Regions from separate parts of the Homo sapiens genome. Here region 2 is linked to region 1. Evidence: promoter capture Hi-C in human tissues and cell types (Jung and others, 2019). All regions are on one chromosome and are shown on one strand. Each heading gives the region's core, a stretch centred on a gene start or on the middle of the fragment in contact. The rest is flanking DNA. Distances are from core to core; before and after follow the strand shown. Region 1 holds the start of IFNGR2 (interferon gamma receptor 2). Region 2 overlaps IFNAR1 (interferon alpha and beta receptor subunit 1).

The links. The method cuts DNA at HindIII sites, captures the fragments that hold promoters and counts their contacts. A contact is called where the count stands out against the background at its distance.
Region 2: a fragment that was not itself captured here is called in contact with the fragment with the promoter of IFNGR2 in region 1 in 1 of the 25 tissues and cell types used here (spleen).

Annotation. Positions count from the first base shown.
Region 1 is chr21:33,401,239-33,404,662 of GRCh38, reverse strand. It overlaps IFNGR2 (interferon gamma receptor 2), which reads right to left and starts at 1,250. Exons shown (of 7, transcript NM_005534.4): 1 at 1,047-1,250. The coding sequence starts at 1,119. RefSeq lists cis regulatory regions at 151-651, 1-680, 1,248, 1,525, 1,535 and 2 more, silencers at 682-731, 872-921, 942-1,021, 1,032-1,571 and promoters at 1,126-1,530, 1,125-2,292, 1,664-2,302, 1,146-2,302. The HindIII fragment of the contact is 6,342 bases long and covers 1-3,424 here.
Region 2 is chr21:33,338,813-33,342,236 of GRCh38, reverse strand. It overlaps IFNAR1 (interferon alpha and beta receptor subunit 1), which reads right to left. Exons shown (of 11, transcript NM_000629.3): 3 at 1,063-1,238. Among named protein-coding and RNA genes, the nearest start is that of IFNAR1, 16 kb to the right of the region's middle. The HindIII fragment of the contact is 9,296 bases long and covers 1-3,424 here.

The DNA of each region.
Region 1 (3,424 bases), core at 1-2,500:
GAGCTCAGGAGTACAAGAACAGCCTGGGCAACACAGTGAGACCTCCTCTCTACAAAAAATACAAAAATTGGCCAGGCGTGGCCAATAATACCACCTTCTTGGGAGGCTGACGTGGGAGGATCGCTTGAGCACGGGAGGCGGAGGCTGCAGTAGCTGAGATGCTGCCCACTGCACTCCAGCCTGGGCGACAGAGCGACACCCTGTCTCAAACAACAATAAAATAAATAAATGCCTGGCTCAGTTGACACTCTTCCTCTTCCGCCCCAACACTGATGGGACCCGGACAGTTCTGAGCCCTGCCTGAATGCTGCTGCCCCATCTCTATGACCGCGGGAACTGTCTAGATTTCACACCCAGTGTCAAACATGCCCTCGGCCAAAGTCGGAATTGAGTCTGGGTCACCCGTCCAAGACGCTGGTCCCTGCTCCACCGCTGCTACTACAAAGGGACTGAGTCTAGCTTCCAGCCAGGCCTTCGGGAGGCACTCCAGGCGGGGACTAAGCGCAGTCTCGCCAGGCTGCAGAACCAGTGGCCAGCAAAGGCGGCCCCCGCCGGAGCCCTGGATTCAATTTGCTGTTGTTCATTCCGAGAAATTCGGAGACTGGGGCCACGCTGGCTTTCCCGGCGCGGGCGCGCGGGTGGGGGAGGTGGCGCAGCCGAGGTTACCGGCTTCACGGAGGGGCACCGAGTGTCCTCTCCCGGAGAGGGGTGTCCCGGCGGCCAGGACGCCAGGAGGGGTGCCCCCCGTCTTCCTGCTGCTGCCCAGCTCCTGTCTGGAACTCCTGGCCGCCCATCCCAGCCCCGCTGCGGGCTCCCAGCGGGCCCCTCTAGCCCTGGGCACCCCGCAAGACCCCCACCTGGGGCACCCGCAGGTTCCCACCTGATCTGAGCACTCCGCATATCCCACCCACCAGGAGCACCCCGCAGATTCCCACCCACTCTGAGCACCCGGCAGATTCCCCCCACCCCACGATCCGGGAGTCCCCCAGCCCCCACATGCTGCGGCTGCGCCCGCGTCCCGCCGCGGAGGCCCAGGCCCGGCTCACCTGGCGGGGCCGCGGCGGCGGCGGCGAAGACTCCGAGCAGCAGCAGCAGCGACCACAGCAGCGTCGGTCGCATGGCCCCGGGCGCTCGGCGGCGGCTCAGGTCGCGGCCGGGGCCCCGCTCGGGGTCCGCGGAGCCGCTCACGTCGCCGCCCAAACCGCCATGGCGAGCGCAGGGCGCGCAGGGCCCGCCTCTTCCCGAGCAGCAGCGGGGCGTCCCGGTGGAGGGGATTCGGCTCGGCCGCCCGCGCCCCCGCCCCCGCCCCGTCCCGCCCCCGAGGCCACCGCCCCCGCGCGGGACTTTCCCGCTCCGGGAACCGCGGCCCTGGGGGGCCTCTGCGGCTGCAGCGCGGGGACCCCACGCAGCCGGCCTCCCAGAGCGCGGAGCCTCCCGGAACGTCCTGGAGACTGGAGCCCCGCGGGACGCCCACCTTCGGGGGCCGCGATCCTTCCGGAAGGGCCCCGCGAGACCCCGGCCCAGACCCCCGGGCTTTCCCTGGAGCCCCCACCCCTCCTGACCCCCCCCAACTCTCCTCTCGGGTGCTTGATCGCACAATTCGAGGATTCGCCCCTTTAGTCGAAATGTTTGCTTTAATAGCCCCCAAAGTACATATTAAGCTTTCAACTCTCCCCCGCCCCCCTCCCCTTTTTTTTGAGACGGAGTCACCAGGCTGGAGTGCAGTGGGGCGATCTCGGCTCACTGCAACCTCCGCCTCCAGTCAACCCCATTTTGAAAAGGGTTTTAAGGGGAAGGAGTTAGAAAGGGCCCAGTGAAGGAGGAGGTGGGGCTCTGGGGGTGGGGGGAATGGCCTCCGAGCAGGGGGAGGGAGAGACAGAAACTTCCAGCATTTCTAAATGGCGTGGGGTTTGCCCTGGAGCCGGCGGCGGTGCACGAGTAGGAAGTCCTTTAGCAGCTGGGCAGCCGCAGGCCCGCTCCCCAGCCCGAGCCTGCACCATGTCGTTTGACGCCTGTTGGGAGAGGGTTTTAAATCTGCCCTGTTCTTCCAAGATGCGTCATAAAGCTAGCGCAGCAAAGGAGGGACGCGGTGCAGGGAGACCAAGAATTTAAAAACAGGTCGTCCCGGGAGCCCACTGGACACGTTAGCAAAAATGGGTTTTGCAACATAGAGCTTTTCTTTTGCTCTTCCCACATTCTTGCATTTCCTCTTTGTAGAACTATTTTGAAATTGGCCACGCTCGTGAAAATACGTGATGAAATACCTCGCAGACAATTGAATTATGCATTGGATATTTCTAGATACAGAGATGTATTTATATGTTACACGAAAAAAGCGGGCGATAACTTGGAATCACTTCAAAAAGTATGCACTGATGCCAGGCGCGGTGGCTCACGCCTGTAATCTCAGCACTTTAGGAGGCCGAGGTGGGCGGATCACATGAGGCCAGGAGTTGGAGACCAGCCTGGCCAATATGGCTGAAACCCGTCTCTACTAAAAATACAAAAATTAGTCAGGCGTGGTGGCCGGCGCCTGTAATCCCAGCTACTTGGAGGGCTAAGACAGGAGAATCACTTGAACCCGGGAGGCGGAGGTTGTAGTGAGCGGAGATTGCGCCACTGCACCCCGGCCTGGGTGACAGACCGAGACTCCGTCTCAAAAAAAAAAAAAAAAAAAAAAAAAAAAAAAAAAAAAAAAGGCACTGAAAATGACAGGATTGCAAGAAGGATTCTGTTTTCAAACAAATAAATAAAATTACAAGAAAACGACTGGGTGAAAGATGCCAACATTCTAACAAGAAATCGGTTACAGGATCACACAAGTGTCATCCGCCTCAGGGGATGTAACCGAATGCTGGTTCAGTCGCTGGCTGCTTGCAGAGTCTAACAAGAGCAAGATGTGGTGGAAAGAAAGTGACTTTATTTCCAAAGCTAGCAAGGGGAAGTGGTTGGATTCCTATCCCCAAAGCAATCACGTTGAATTGTGGGGTATGGGGAGTGGGAAAGGCAAGGGTTATTTATTTTATTTATTTATTTATTTATTTATTTATTTATTTATTTATTTATTTGAGACAGAGTCTCCGTCACCCAGGCTGGAGTGCAGTGGTGTGATCTCCGCTCACTGCAAGCTCCGCCTTCTGGGTTCACACCATTCTCCTGCCTCAGCCTCCCGAGTAGCTGGGACTGCAGGCGCACGCCACCACACCCGGCTAATTTTTTGTGTTTTTTGTAGAGATGGGTTTTCACCGTGTTAGCCAGGTTGGTCTCGATCTCCTGACCTCGTGATCTGCCTGCCTCGGCCTCCCAAAGTGCTGGGATTACAGGCGTGAGCCACCGCGCCCGGCCAAGGCAAGGGTTTAAAACGGGAAAACGATGTGGAAGTCAGGCAAGGATTATGCTAAGTACACTGTCTGTTTGTCTTGTT
Region 2 (3,424 bases), core at 652-3,151, 63 kb after region 1:
GGGTCTCACTATGTTGCCTAGGTTGGTCTTGAACTTCTGGCCTCAAGTGATCCTCCCACCTCAGCCTCCCAAAGTGTTGGAATTACAGGTGTGGGCCACTACACTCAGCTCCTTTACATTCTTAAAGGAATTATCGAGAATCCCAAACAGCCATTATTTATGTGGGCTGTATATTTTTATATTAGCATATTAAACATTAAAACTGGTAAAGTTTTCAATCCATTTTAACTAATTAATCCATTAAGAAATAACAATGGACTGGGCATGGTGGCTCACGCCTGTAATCCCAGCACTTTGGGAGGTTGAGGTGGGCAGATCACCTGAGGTTGGGAGTTTGAGGTCAGCCTGACCAACATGGAGAAACCCTGTCTCTACTAAAAATACAAAATTGGCCAGGCATGGTGATGCATGCTGGTAATCCCAGGTACTCGGGAGGCTGAGGCGGGAGAGTCACTTGAACCCAGGAGGCAGAGGCTGTAGTGAGCCGTGATTGTGCCATTGCACTCCAGCCTGGGCAACAAGAACAAAACTCTGTCTCAAAAAAAAAAAGAAAGAAATAACAATGATAAACCTATTTTATGGTAACAAACATTTGCCAAAAGGAACATAGAAACTTCAGAGTGGTGCTGTTTTACATTTTTTTTCCAAATCTTTTGAATGTTTGGATTAATAAAGAAGGCAGATGAATTTCACATTGAATTCTATGTTAAATCAGTGACCATATCACCACATCACACATCAAACAGCCTCCTCTGGAAAACTCCACTGTGAATACAAGAAAGAACAAAAATTAAAAAGGCAACTAAGTCTTAGATTTGTCATAAATATAGCTTTGTCTTTACAGCCCCCTGAAAGGGCCTTGAGGATCACTCTTTGAGAACCACTACTACAGGGAAAGTAGGACAAATGGAGCCATAGCAGGAAGAAGATATAGGTTTAAGGGAATTTTTGTTCTTTTTAAAAGATGTTAGATTTTGCATCATGCAAATGAATGGCTTGGAAAGTGAACTGCTCTGGTAATATTTACTAAAGAATATAATTCAGCTAGCAACTTTTTCTTACCTTTGCGAAATGGTGTAAATGAGTCAACCTCATACCATGAAGAAGTGTTTTCTTTTTCTGCTCTTATACGCAATTTAATTTCTTCATAAACATTCAGCTTGAGTGAAGAAAAGTTGCATTTGGTACTAGTAATATTCTGACACCCAGACAATTTTATCCAATTATCCATCCCAGTTCTTTAAAGTAAAAAAAACAAATGAATGAGTGAGCAAATGTATAAATGTAAGTGTCAAATACTTTCTATTTACTGGTATAAGAGTTATTTCTTAACTCTTAATAACTCTTGTTTAAGAGTTATTTCTATTTTTGGTTTAAGAGTTATTTCTTCTACTTGAGCTAATGTCCTATTAACATTTTAGCATACACCCTTCCACTCTTTTTCAATGCATATAAGCCAAGTTATTACTTATGAAACTGAATTTTAAAATACAGTTCTTTATATAATTTTGTGGGTGGTTGCTTCAGGAAGCAGAGAAATAAATGACCCATAAGGTAAAAGTGGATTTAGTATGTTGGCTCTGTTAAAAATAGCTGTGTGACTTTTGGTAAACTATTTTGTGTTTCTGGATCTTATCTTCCTTATTGAAAGTTTGGAGCCTGGTCAACATAGCAAACCCTGTCTCTATGAGAAATAAAAAAAAAAAAAGGCAAAGCAGGGCATGGTGGCACATGCCCACAGTCCTAGCTACTGGGTAGGCTGAGGTGAGAGGGTCATTTGAGCATAGGGGTTCAAGGCTGCAGGCTGCAGTAGGCTATGATCATATCACTGCACTCCAGCCTCAGCAACCGAGCAAGACCCTGTCTCTAATAAAATAAAATTAAATAGAAACTGGGGAATTGGATTTGATGATTCCCTTCTGACCTCCTCCTATGAATAGACTTACCTTCCCTAAGAAAGACCTCAGAATCAGTATGGTTTCAAGGTTTCCTCTGCCCTCTCCAAAAGCAAACCATCCCTTCTGCTTGCCTGTCTCCGTAATTTCTTCTATTACATCATCAGAAACCACAAAACTGAAAATGTTTACATAAACAAATAAATTTTTGGAAGTGGAACTGGCCAATCAGAAAGCTGAAGTGATATTAGATTCTTCCTTTCAAAAAAGGGGCAAACATGAAAAATAAAGTGGGCATGGAGTGCCTAAAGCAGAAAAGGACATGTTGCCCAGAAAGGGGAAGAAGAGCTTGCAGGGAAAGTGAGGGATAGAAACGAACTTAGCAGATTTCTTTTTTTTTTTTTTTTTTTTTTTGAGACAGAGTCTTACTCTGTTGCCCAGGCTGGAGTGCAGTGGTGCAATCTCGGCCCACTGCAACCTCCACTTCCTAGGTTCAAGCAATTCTCCTGCCTCAGCCTCTCAACTAGCTGTGATTACAGGCGTGTGCCACCACGTCTGGCTAATTTTTGTATTTTTTTTTTTAGTAGAGATGGGGTTTTGCCATGTTGGCTAGACTGATCTTAAACTCCTCACCTCAGGTGATCTGCCCACCTCAGCCTCCCAAAGTGCTGGGATTACAGGCGTGAGCCACCATGCCCGGCCAATTTAGCAGATTTGAGAACTTTTACCTATGTTAAGCCCATTGACCATAAGTAGCAGAGAAACTATCTTCTGGGAAGGCATTTTTGTCAAGCCTAATTCATTAGCTGATTTATTTATTTTTAATAATATCACAGATGCCATTTTAAAGACGATTTAGATATTAGAAACCAGAGATAATACCAAAATAATTTTGTTGCTGAACCAAATACAAGTCTACCTTGTTTTTCAAAATGGAAACATTTTTAAGAAATTACCAAAAATATACACTAGCATATGAAATACTTCATTCTTGGCCAGTTTTCACTTCCACTTTTACATATCTGAGGCCTGAGATTAGAGCTGGCATTAAAAATACCTTAAACATTCTTGAAAAGGTTCCACATCAGAATCTATTTCTAAAAATCCAGAAACTCTCATTATAAACAGAAAACCTTATCAAAAATTTAAAACTTAATATAATTTCAACCCAACCTCACTGTTTACATCTGTCTTTCCTACTTCAGGAGATGCTGAAGCATGCTCCATTAAAACTGTTTTACATCTAATCAAGATATTGCAGCAGAAGCTACTTTTATATTTTCTTAAAAAAATCATTATTGGCCGGGCTCGGTGGCTCACACCTGTAATCCCAGCACTTTGGGAGGCCGAGGGGGGTGGATCACTTGAGATCAGGAGTTCGAGATCAGCCCGATCAACATGGAGAAATCCTGTCTCTACTAAAAATACAAAATTAGCCGGGCGTGGGGGTGCATGCCTGTAATCCCAGGCACTCGGGAGGCTGAGACAGGAGAATTGCTTGAACCCGGGAGGCGGAGGTTGCGGTGAGC